4 separate regions of the Homo sapiens genome follow, and all the other regions are linked to region 1. The links are contacts of gene promoters, found by promoter capture Hi-C in blood cells and fetal thymus (Javierre and others, 2016). All regions are on one chromosome and are shown on one strand. The core of a region is centred on a gene start or on the middle of the fragment in contact, and the rest is flanking DNA. Distances in the headings are between cores, read along the strand shown.

The links. The method cuts DNA at HindIII sites, captures the fragments that hold promoters and counts their contacts. A CHiCAGO score of 5 or more calls a contact.
Region 2: a contact is called between a fragment that was not itself captured here and the fragment with the promoter of SLC20A1 in region 1, in 1 of 17 cell types (fetal thymus). The highest score is 7.6, in fetal thymus.
Region 3: a fragment that was not itself captured here is called in contact with the fragment with the promoter of SLC20A1 in region 1 in 1 of 17 cell types (monocytes); the score reaches 5.5 in monocytes.
Region 4: a contact is called between a fragment that was not itself captured here and the fragment with the promoter of SLC20A1 in region 1, in 4 of 17 cell types (fetal thymus, total CD8 T cells, non-activated CD4 T cells and 1 more). The highest score is 7.5, in fetal thymus.

The regions. Positions count from the first base shown.
Region 1 is chr2:112,644,222-112,647,345 of GRCh38, forward strand. SLC20A1 (solute carrier family 20 member 1) reads left to right here and starts at 1,718. Exons shown (of 11, transcript NM_005415.5): 1 at 1,718-1,908; 2 at 2,342-2,941; 3 at 3,103-3,124. The coding sequence starts at 2,608. RefSeq lists silencers at 1,380-2,209, 2,671-2,965. The HindIII fragment of the contact is 3,268 bases long and covers 689-3,124 here.
Region 2 is chr2:111,891,496-111,894,619 of GRCh38, forward strand. No RefSeq gene overlaps it. Among named protein-coding and RNA genes, the nearest start is that of MERTK, 5.5 kb to the right of the region's middle. The HindIII fragment of the contact is 6,163 bases long and covers 1-3,124 here.
Region 3 is chr2:111,999,956-112,003,079 of GRCh38, forward strand. It overlaps MERTK (MER proto-oncogene, tyrosine kinase), which reads left to right. Exons shown (of 19, transcript NM_006343.3): 11 at 1,246-1,331. Among named protein-coding and RNA genes, the nearest start is that of TMEM87B, 54 kb to the right of the region's middle. The HindIII fragment of the contact is 954 bases long and covers 1,127-2,080 here.
Region 4 is chr2:112,050,038-112,053,161 of GRCh38, forward strand. No RefSeq gene overlaps it. Among named protein-coding and RNA genes, the nearest start is that of TMEM87B, 3.7 kb to the right of the region's middle. The HindIII fragment of the contact is 755 bases long and covers 1,085-1,839 here.

The sequences.
Region 1 (3,124 bases), core at 468-2,967:
TATAAAAGTACGCCTGTGGACAGACTGAAAACAAACAAACAAAACACACACACAAACACACAAAACAACCGCACACTGGGAGAAGTTCTAGGCAATTTCCTTGCAAATAACTGCTTTGAAAATTACTGTTTTAAATTGGCAGAACACTAAGGACTTTGAACAGATCATCCCTTTTACTCAATGTTTTCATAACCTTGAAGTGAAGGTGGAGGGAGCAGTACGTTTTAAGGTGCCAGGATTACACTACGGGGTCAGTGCTCCCGGATATGAACTTTCTTTTTCAGACCGACCTTGGGACCTACAGCTTTGTAAGTTACTCATACAACTCCATCAAATGTTACAGGTAGGTCAGAGGACATTCAGGTTGTTTAAGCCTCTATAAATGACTCAGGCAGCAACAATTTACAACGTCTTTGTTTCTGCTATGCAGTGCCCTCCTGCTAGAGATGGCAAAAATGTGGGGAGGGCTTCAGAGCATTCTAAGCCTGGTATTTCTGGCTGGAATTTTTAAATCTCACTACAATCCTGACAAGAGACCACGACCTTAATCTCCCACGGCATGACTGGTTAGTCTTGATCGTAAGCCATATAATCAACACCCAAATGTGCATAACACATCTAAATAATGTCAAAACTACACTATATACCACGCAGGGGACCAGAAATCAATCTTTACCTCAAAAGGATAAGCTTCCAGGATGCAATAACATCCCCTTCCACCCTTTTCTACACCCTAAAACAGTAATATTCACGGTAACAGCAAAGCGGAAATCAGCTTTTCCTGAACATGTACTGAATTCTAGTCACATTCACACACGTTAATTCATTTAATTCCAGCCACAAGGTAGGCAGCCTCTGTTAACATTTTACAATTGTGAGAACGCAGAGATCTGGGACTGGCTCAAGGTGACACACTGCAGCAAGGAGTCAGAATTTGAATCCGAAGCAGTGTCCTTCCCCCTCGCAACAGCTGCGGCGTTACAAACACAGGTCAGCCACGGAGAAATTAATGACCCACAGCCATCCTTGCAGCTCTGCGCCATAACTGGGGAGACAAGCTGGTTCCCGTGACTCTTCAGTCTGTTTTCACCCAAGTGCATGACTGCGGGAGCAAAGCGACCACGTGAGCATCCCCCCCCCACCCCCCCGCTTCCCCCAGGCGAGGGACAGTGCCAGGCCAAGGACAAGTCACAGGTGCAACAACGTGCCAGAACTGGATCCGGAGCCCCAGGGCGCAAGATCTCCCGCAGCGTCACCCGGCAGAGGGACGGGTGTGGCCACCGGGCGCGGCAGGTCCTGCGTGCGCTGAAAGTGCGGCTGGAGGCGCGGACGGCTTTCCGGAGCCCCGAGAGAGGAGCTAGGAATGACTTTGGTCGCAGCCTCTGTAACCCCGCATGACGGCCTCTAGGGGGACAGCGAGGTCCCCCTCGATCTCTGGCTGTAATCAGCCGGCGGGGCCAGACGGTGCCGAGACTCCAGGGCGAGGCCGCAGGGAGGGGGCTGTCCCGCCCCACGTGGACCGGCTCCCCGCTGGGGGCGTGGCCGCCGAAGCGGGCCGGGCCAATGAGCGCCACCGTCGGGCTCACCCGGCTGGGCACGCCGGGCCGAGGAGGGCTGCGTCATGCCGGGGGCGGGGCTTCGGGGCCGGCGCGAGGCGCGGCGGGGTCACGCGGGTCGCTGCGCGGGCTATAAGTAGGGGCCGGCGGGGTGCTCCGCTGGAGTGATGGCTGCCGGCGCTCTCTGCGTGGTTCTTCTTCTCGGCCGCTGAAACCCCCGCGGCTGCTTCCTGGGAAGGTCGTGAGTCCCGCTGAGCTGTCCCCGGTGCCGCCGACCCGGGCCGTGTGCCCGTGGCTCCAGCCGCTGTCGCCTCGATCTCCTCGTCTCCCGCTCCGCCCTCCCTTTTCCCTGGTGAGTAGTGGCGCCGCCTCGTAAAGGCTCTTTCTTCTCCCCGGGGCCGGGCGCGGACGCCGTGGCGCTGGAGGCGGACGCCGTGGGCGGCGCGGCTGGCTTCTCTCTTCGCCGCTGGCCGCCTCCACTCCGCCCGTCTGCCCGCCCGCGGGCCTTTTTGGCGGTCCCCGGGCGGCGCGCGCGGGAACGGCCCTTTTCCGATTTTCGCGCGGAGGGCGCGCGCGGGCTGGCAGCGCAGGGGCTGGGCTGGGCGCGCGCGGGCCGCGGAGGACCCGGAGCCACGTGCCTCTCCTTCTCGCGCGTCCTACTGGGGATGGGGGTCTGGAGTAGCCGGCAGAGGCTATTGCGGGACCCCGGGCGCGTGGGTAGAGCGGGGTGCCCCACTGGCCCCCCAGGGGCACGCAGCTATTGTTATTTCCCCCCTCCCCCGCAGGATGAACTTGCGTCCTTTCTCTTCTCCGCCATGGAATTCTGCTCCGTGCTTTTAGCCCTCCTGAGCCAAAGAAACCCCAGACAACAGATGCCCATACGCAGCGTATAGCAGTAACTCCCCAGCTCGGTTTCTGTGCCGTAGTTTACAGTATTTAATTTTATATAATATATATTATTTATTATAGCATTTTTGATACCTCATATTCTGTTTACACATCTTGAAAGGCGCTCAGTAGTTCTCTTACTAAACAACCACTACTCCAGAGAATGGCAACGCTGATTACCAGTACTACAGCTGCTACCGCCGCTTCTGGTCCTTTGGTGGACTACCTATGGATGCTCATCCTGGGCTTCATTATTGCATTTGTCTTGGCATTCTCCGTGGGAGCCAATGATGTAGCAAATTCTTTTGGTACAGCTGTGGGCTCAGGTGTAGTGACCCTGAAGCAAGCCTGCATCCTAGCTAGCATCTTTGAAACAGTGGGCTCTGTCTTACTGGGGGCCAAAGTGAGCGAAACCATCCGGAAGGGCTTGATTGACGTGGAGATGTACAACTCGACTCAAGGGCTGCTGATGGCCGGCTCAGTCAGTGCTATGTTTGGTAAGTTCTTTTTATGTTTTGTCCTCTTCGTGGTGGGTGAGCAAATTTGTATCATGGGTGGTTCCATTTTTGTGCATAACCTTTCCGATTAACCTTTCTGAATGTGCCACTTACATAATGGAATTTTGATATTTACTTAATAAAACTTTACTATGTTTCAGGTTCTGCTGTGTGGCAACTCGT
Region 2 (3,124 bases), core at 337-2,836, 750 kb before region 1:
GGGTTGTGGTCTCCACGACCGAGCTGGTCTCAGCAGCCATCTCTCTCTCTTTTTGTTTTTTTTTTTAAAAACAGAGTCTCGCTTTATTACCCAGGCTGGAGTACAGTGGCACAATCTTGGCTCACTGCAACCTCGACCTCCTGGGCTCAAGCGATCCTCCCATCTCAGCCTCCTGAGTAGCTGGGACCACAGGTATGCACCACCATGCCTGGCTAATTTTTGTATTTTTTGTAGAGACGGAGTTTCACCATGTTGCCTGGGCTGGTCTCGAACTCCTGGGCTCAAGCATCTGCCTGCCTCAGCCTCCCATAGTGCTGGGATTACAGGCATGAGCCACTGTGCCCGGCCTACATCCACCGTCTCACTTTCCCTCAATCTTCAAGTGCTAGACTTTGTATTCCCAGTATGGCTTTATGCTGACTTGAGACCCCTCTAAGCATCATTTCAGTGCCCCAGTGAACCCTAATGTTTAAACATTTGCACATCATAGATATTGTTCAGCATAGTGAAAGGAGTTTTGTACCTATACTATCTCAAGTTTCCAAAAGCTATAAGGGCTAGACACTGATCCTTCCACTTTATTGTTCACCTCTCGAAATGCAGCCTCTACATGCTCTAATAATTGTACTTCCCATATGCAGTTGACTGTGGTGATTTGAGCCTTTTAAACACACAACCTGACTTTGCCTCCCCAACCTCCCCCCAACAAATTACATAAGCTGGATACTAGTATTTCCAGTCTGTTGTTCAGCACATGGAATGAAATGTCCTAGGTTCTCCATCATTACACCCCAACAATTTCAAAAACTGGGCTCTTGGCCTCCTAGTATGTGGCTGAGCATGTTAAAGGAAGTATCATGACAGAACTCTCAATTCCATAACAGACACAAGTGCCAGACAAGGCAACTTCCACTGTACTTCTCAGCACAGTGAAAAAATACACTATCTCATTTTTTTTTTTTTTTTTGAGATAGAGTCTCGCTCTGTGGTCCAGGATGGAGTGCAGTGGTGTGATCTCAGCCCACTGCAACCTCACCTCCCAGGTTCAAGTGATTCTCCTGCCTCAGCCTCCCGAGTAGCTAGGACTACAGGCATGCACCACCATGCCCAGCTAATTTTTTTTATTTTTTTTAATAGATACAGGGTTTCACCATGTTAGCCAGGCTGGTCTCTAACTCCTGACCTCAGGTGATCTGCCCTCCTTGGCCTCCCAAAGTTCTGGGATTACAGGCATTAGCCACCATGCCTAGCCCACTAGCTCATTTTTCTTTTTTTTTTTTGAGATGGAGTCTCGCTCTGTCACCCCAGCCGGAGTGCAGTGGTGCCATCTTGGTTCACTGAAACCTTCGCTTCCCAGGTTCAAGCAATTCTCCTGTCTCAGCCTCTTGAATAGCTGGGACTACAGGCATGTGCCACCACGCCTGGCTAATTTTTTTGGTATTTTTAGTGGAGATGGGGTTTCGCCACGTTAGCCAGGATGGTCTCCATCTCCTGATCTCATGGTCTGCCCGCCTTGGCCTCCCAAACTGCTGGGATTACAGGCGTGAGCCACCGCACCTGGCCCTAGCTCATTTTTCTAACAAACTGTAACACTTAGATATGCTTCTCATGCCTCTTCCAGGATGCTAAATAGGTTGTCACTTACCCACCAACTATAAAAGCTCAACAATTGGCCTTCTGTACCTTGTTCAACACAATGAGGAGCATCTTTAAATGGTGCTGCCCCATTTCCAATGGGATGAGAGTGAGATTTTACTTTTAATGAGTTTTTCAGCCTATTGGATGGATTATCTTGAAAGACACTCCAAGAAACCACTAAAGGAAATACTTTATTCCAGTATCGTGTTCACTGTGCTGAATGGAGTGTTTTACTTGTACTATTTCACTTTACAACAACTATAAAAGCTATTGTACTGTGAGGGTTAATTCCAGCAGGCCTGAAATTAGCTTGAACTGTTTTGAAGTTCCTGCGTGGCAATGACCCCTGGCCAAGAGCATGAAGCATATTGATTAATAATGTTGCTTTTTAACCATCAGTCTGAGGAGCTTCAGGGAAACTTGTACTACCATCAACTTTGCTTTTCGAAAACAATGAGATAAATGATTTGCACCTGGTCTCAGCGAGACCCCTCCAACCCCTGCCACAGGGCTCTGCTGTTGAGGCTGGTTATGCCTTAAGACTATGCCGATGACCAGCAAAATATAAAAATCCCCAGCTGAGACTCCATTTTCGATCCCATTTCTGAGGTGTTCCATGCACACATCAATGGTTTTTGATCCAACAGAGAAAGTGCATCCTGCCACGTTCCTTACAGAAATTAGGACAAAGGAGCTGGCACCTGGCCTATCTGGCCATGAATAGCCTTTGACTGAGATGCTTATTCTTACTTTACTGCTATTTGCTATATTGTGTCCTCTTACTGTAACAAACTCGAGATGTTGGATCTGGTCAGTAATTTTTTAGCAGTGAAACCGTTTAACTTCCACTTAACGATTATACAACTGGCCGGGCGCAGTGGCTCACACCTGTAATCCCAGCACTTTGGGATGCTGAGGCAGGTGGATCATGAGGTCAAGAGATGGAGGCCATCCTGGCCAACATGGTGAAACCACGTCTCTACTAAAAATACAAAAATTAGCTGGGTGTGGTGGCACACACCTATAGTCCCAGCTACTCGGGAGGTTGAGGCAGGAGAATTGCTTGAATCTGGGAGGCGGAGGTTGCAGTGAGCCAAGATCACGCCACTGCACAACAGCCTGGTGACAGAGCAAGATTCGGTCTCAAAAAAAAAAAAAAAGGCAATTATATGACTGCACTTGTGTATGTGTGTTTGATTCAATATTTCAAATGGTTTACATTACCTAAAATATATGCCCCCAAAGGCCTTAAACCTATACTCCCATTATGTTGTTCAGCACATTGAACAGGGTCTCTTCCATGCACTGTCTGTGTTATGCAAGAAACTACAAGATGCTTGTACGTCCCTCAAGATTTTTGGCATTATGAGTTGACTTTTCTTACGGGCACCATTCCAGTTATCCAGCAAATTTTAAGAACTTGGCACTTACATTTCTAATATATTGCTCAGAATACTGAATGAAGGACAAGAGGTCAAGGGGTTTA
Region 3 (3,124 bases), core at 354-2,853, 640 kb before region 1:
CAAAGTACCTTCTCAAGGGTAGGGAGGGTGTATCATACAAAGTACATTCGCAAGGGTGGGGGAATACCACAAAGTACATTATCCCAAGGGCAGGGAGGGTGTATTGTCACAAAGTCAATTGATCAGTTAGGGTGGGGCAGGAACAAATCACAATGGTGGAATGTCATCAGGTAAGGCAGGAACTGGCTATTTTCACTTCTTTTGTGGATCTTCGGTTGCTTCAGGCCATCTGGGTGTATACGTGCAGGTCACAGGGGATATGATGGCTTAGCTTGGGCTCAGGGTCCTGACAATTAGTACAATACATTTGTTACAGTTAATGAGCCAATATTGATCCATTGTCATTAACTAACATCTCTACTTTCTTGAGATTTCCTTAATTTTCACCTAATGTCCCTTTAGTGTTCTGGGATCCCTTCCAGGATGCCACATTTTACAGTCAGTCATCACATCTCCTTAGGCTCCTCTTGGCTGTGGCCATTTCTTAGACCTTCCTTGTCTTTGATGATCTTGCCAGTTTTCAGAAGTGTTAGTCGGGTGTTTTGTAGGATGCCCCTCTATTGCAATGTGTTCGATGTTTTGCTGATAATGAGCAGGGGTTATGGGTGATTGAGAGGAGGAGCACAGAATTAAAATGCCATTGTCATCACTTCTTATCAAGGGTGCATATTAACATGATGTATCACTGTTGATGTTGACATTGATCACCTGGCTGAAGTAGTATTTGCTGGGTTTCTCTACCATGAAGTTATTTTTTCTCCCTTTCCCTACTGTTCTTTGGAAGCAAGTCACTATGCATAGCCCATATTGACAGCATGAGGGTTTAACTCCCTCCACCCCTTACTAGCTACATAAAATATTTGGAATTCTTCACCACAGGAGATTGGTGTCTTTTCTTCCATTCATTCATTCAATCATATTTTCATAAGTATAGACTTATGGATATTCATTTTATACTCATAGTCTAGTATTACTTTAGTTTCTTGCTCAGACTGTTACAGCTTTGGCCACTGGGAGCTTATCTGTTATTCTCTGTTCTTGGCGGTACCTGGCTAGAGTAGTTTCAATATTGCCAAGTAAGTCTAAAATAAATCAAAGGAAAGAAACACGTTTCTTCTAGGGGGAAAGCTTTTGTTGTAGAAGAGCCCATTGAAAAGCGGAAGCTCTGTAGCATCCTTGTGGAATCAGTGCCTGCCCCAGTAGCCCTGTTTTTATAGTGAAGTATCTTTGTTTTCATTCACCCAGGAATGCATTCACAGAGGAGGATTCTGAATTAGTGGTGAATTATATAGCAAAGAAATCCTTCTGTCGGCGAGCCATTGAACTTACCTGTAAGTTGACTTTCATTTCCCTTTTTGGCAAAAGTTAAAATAGTTGAGAACAAAGAAGGATCAATAGACAGATTTCTAACAAAAGCCAAAGATGTCGAAGAAGAATGGATATTTTTAATGTACAAAATGTCTTTAAAAGCAGCAAGTAGATAGCCAGACATTGCCATGCACAGCTCTGTGGGCTAATTTACTGCAATCAGGAGCTTGACCTGGGGTTAAAAGGACTCACAATGTCATGAAATGTGGCAGAAAAGAGGAACCTTCTAGGGTGACAGAAGATGGGTAGAGGCCAGGGATTTAAAGAAAACTTCTAACTAGTGAACATAATCTCAAGCCTCATTTCCTGTTTTCCTGGCAACCAACTCCGAGGATGATTTGCCAACATGCTTTATAGTAATTATGGTTTGAGCTTTGCTGAATCAGAGAGTGGGGGCTTCTGGTTTAAACAGCGGAAATAAACAGACACTAGTGTTCCTGAATAATTTCAGAAAAAGTATAGAAAGGACATGCAAATATTAACAAATTCATGCTTCTGGATGTTTGCCCCCAATAAAGAAAATAGATAAGAATGACAGAATACAGGTTGCTATGAAATAGAAACTTGCTTGGTGTAGAATATTATTAATTTCTTTACCTTTCTAGTCTGTAAGTTTTGACTTTTAGATATCCTCAATTTTTTTTTTAATTTAAAATTTTAAAATTTGTCATTTAGACCACTTTCTTTCCTTTATTGGAGAACCACTGGATAAAGCTTTTTCTCTGAGAACTAATGTGTCCTAATTATCCACATTTTTTTGATCTTTCAAGAGCTTGTTCATGCCTTAACTGTGGTCCAGACTGAATCATTTGCCAAGAGTTGTTGAACTGGTCCCCTTCTGGTTAATTTCTCTTGTTGCCAACATGACTCATCTATTATATACCTTACTATATTATATATTTTATTATAGAAAAATCTTTTTCTCCAATTCCTCAAAGTGCTCAATTTAGCCCTTGCTATGCTGTTATAATAGGTTTCATATACAGTATGTAAAATAAGAGCTTATTCTCTAGATGTTTCCTGTGGTTTGTGAGACTCCGTCCATGGCATGGGAGGGTAGGGGACGTGTGGTTCTTTTGTATACTGTAGTCAAGGGTATAATATTAATAGTAAAGAATTCACCAGAAATTACCTATTGACTTATCTTCCTTACCCCTTTAAGTCAAAGGCAAACCACCCCTACATGAATCTGATTACCGGCTGCTGCTACCACACAACAGAATGAGAAATGTGGTTCTGATTTTTGTAATTCTTCAGAATTAACCTTGCCCTGAAGGATTCATTATACTTAGTTTAATCATTCTAAAGTATGAAATTTTATTACTGGCATTTTTGGGAGAGAAATAATAGATACAAAATGAAAAAAGGGGCCGGCTATGGTGGTTCACACCTGTAATCCCAGCACTTTGGGAGGCCGAGGTGGGTAGATCACTTGAGGTCAGGAGTTCGAGACCAGCCTGGCCCAGATGATAAAACCCGTCTCTACTGAAAATACATAAATTAGCTGGGTGTGGTGGTGCATGCCTGCAGTCCCAGCTACTTGGGAGGCTGAGGCACAAGAATCGCTTGAACCCAGGAGGCAGAGGTTGCAGTGAGCCAAGGTTGCACCATTGCACTCCAGCCTGGGCAACAGAGCTAGACTCTGGCTCAATAAATAAATAAATAAATAAGGAATGTTTTATTATACAGGACTTTATTTCATTTTAATTATCAAGTGAAAGAAAACACGCTGACAATTTTTGTACATACTATGTTA
Region 4 (3,124 bases), core at 212-2,711, 590 kb before region 1:
TGCCTTTTCTTTTATCTCTTTGTCTTGTGTCTTTATTTCTACACTCTCTCATCTCCACACACGGGGAGAGACCCACTGACCCTGTGGGGCTGGTCCCTACAATTTATGTGATATATAAGTTGCACATGAAGAGGAAATATCAGAAAAACAACCTTTATGTTTACATATCCATAAGCCTCAACTCAAAACTAAAATCAGTTTTGATTTAGGGAAGAAAAAGTTAAATGAAGGCAAATGGAAGTATGTGGAAAAGGTGCTTTATATGATACTCTCAAAATTTCTCATACAATCCAATATTTTAATTAAAAGCAATGAATCAAATGTACAGCTTTTTATGCAAAAATAGCATCTATTCATTTTTGGTGTTAGCCATACCCCAAAGTCTCTCATTAATAGCACTGAATTCAGGATCTCATGATACTTCGTGTTCTCAAATGCCTTTTCATTTCCCTGCACAGCAACCTCTGAACTGTGATTCAGTTTTATAACAGCTGCAATAAACTCCACTAGAGGAAGGACTGGTCTATTGATGGGGGCCTTTCAGTTCTAGCTTACAGTCAACTATTGCCAAATTTTTCCTTATTTGTTCTTTGGACAATTTTTGTTTGCTCCAGGATTTAATTTTTCAAATTAAAAATTATATGGTAGCTGTTTTGTTTGTTTGTTTGTTTGTTTTTCTAAATCCCATAAGACTCAAAAGAGAATGAGTAAAGCACTCTGGCAATCAGTTGACTATCAATCTATTTTTACCAAGTAATCATAAATTTTCCATCTGCTGTGGAGGACACCAAGTTGGATCCCTATATGGGATGTGAGAGGTGTGAGATACTCCCTTCCTTCTTCCTTCCTCCTCCTCCTTCTTAGAAAGGCATATAAATTTTATTAACATATATACAGGGAGAACCACAGAGTGATTACCCCCTTCTTTCTTAGTTTTGGAAATTTTTCTTTTGAAATGATTTCAGACTCAAAGAAAAGTTGCAAGAAGAATACAAAGAACTCCTGCATACTCTTCATTCAAATTGGTTTTATTAGATTATCTTGATAGATAGATAGAGATGGTATACATGTTATACATATATAAAGCTTATATATATAATATATAAAAAGTTTTTTGTAACCACCAAAGAATAAGTTCAGATGTGGTGCCCGCTTACCTTTAAATACTTCAGTGTGCTTTTCTCTAGAAAGAGGACCTTCTCTTAGTGTGATAACGGTGCCATTTTCACATTCAGGAAATTCACATTGACAATACCATTTTCTTAAAGTCCTTGTTCAAATTTCACCAATTGTCTAAAGAATTTTAATAGCAAAAACAATTTTTCTGGTGTAGGCTCCAGACTGCTAGGCCTATATGTCACATTTAGTTATCATGTCTCTTGGGTCTCCTTTAACCTCTAACTTCCTCAGCTGTTTCAAGAACCTGGCATATATATATATATATATATATATATATATATATATATATATATTTTTTTTTTTTTTTTTTTTTTGGTAAATTATACCAGCTAGTTACTTTGTAGAATGTCTTTCAATTTGGGTTGTCTGATGTTTCCTTGTGATTAGATTTAAGTATGTGAATTTTTTCCTCATTTCCTTGAATAGCTTGATTAGATGCATTTTTGCATTTTGGGCATGCATTTTTGGCAGGAATATCACAGAAGTCATGCTGTTTCTTTTCAGTTAATCAAATCATGATACATATCATGTCTGTTTGTCCCAATCCTTGTGGGATTAACCTTGATCATTAAGTTGGTGTCTGCCAGGTATCTCCACTGTATAATTACTGTTTTTCTCTTTGTAATTAATAAGTAATTTTTGGAAGATATTTCCTCATGAAGCTTTTGCCAACTAACTTTAGAATAGAATTGATGATTCTTTCTGAATCAATTTTAATTGTGATAGTTGCCAAATGGTGATATTTTAAATTTGTTATTCCTTCTGCATTTATTAGTTTTCCAACTGTAAGAAAGTGATTTTCTTTCCTATTTATGTAATCATTTATTTATTTATGTTAGTATAGACTCATGGATTCCTATTTGAGTCAATGAGTTACAATCCACTACTATCATTTTGGTGACCAAATTGTCCCAGATCTGGTAAGTGGAAGGGAGCTCCTTCAAACTGGCTCCTATGCCTTTTTGACGTGTCCTCATAATTTTTTACCCACTTCCTTACTTTCTGGCAAAACAAGATTCTCAAGTTCATCATGAATTTCTCTATTCCATTCCTGGGCTCAGCCACTTCTCCAAGGATCCCTGGTTTATTTTAGTGGAGAATGATATTTATAAAGCAAGATCTGGTGCTAGATGTACCTATTGCTACTGGGGTGTCGCTGCTTCTAGGTCCTCCTGGGAATCAGTGCAAGAAAATATAAACACACACACACACACACATATCTACATCTATTTATAAAACTAAATTTTAAAAATGAGTTCACACTGATATCATCAGTTGCAAGCCAGCATTATAGTTCATTCTAACCTTCCTCATTTTCCTTTTTTTTTTTTCCTTTTCTTGCTTTCTTTCTCTTTCTTTCTTTTTTTTGTTTGTGACAGGTTCTGACTCTGTCACACAGGCTGGAGTGCAGGGCTCACTGCAACTTTCGCCTCCCAGGCCCAAGTGATCCTCCCGCCTCAGCTTCTTTGAGTAGCCAGAACCACAGGCACGCCACCACACCTGGCTAATTTTTGTATTTCGTGTAGAGACAGGATTTCGCCATGTTGTCCAGGCTGGTCTCAAACTCCTGAGCTCAAACTATCCACCCGCCTTGACCTCCCAAAGTGCTGGGATTACAGGCGTGCCCAGCCACTGTAAACATCTTACGACCATGGGTGGTGACTGGCAAGAAATGTACCTTGCTAGTTTTAAGATGGAGTTATTTTTAAAATGGTGTCACCCTGGCTCTCCTATGCTCCTGTTTCCCAATTTGACAACCAACACGATCTTTCTGATCAGCTCATCCTTACTTAAAAACCATCATTGGGGCCGGGCGCGGTGGCTCACGCCTGTAATCCCAGCACTTTGGGAGGCCGAGGCAGGCGGATCATGAGGTCAAGAGATCGAGACCATCCTGGCTAACACGGTGAAACCCAGTCTCTACTAAAAAATATAAAAAAATTAG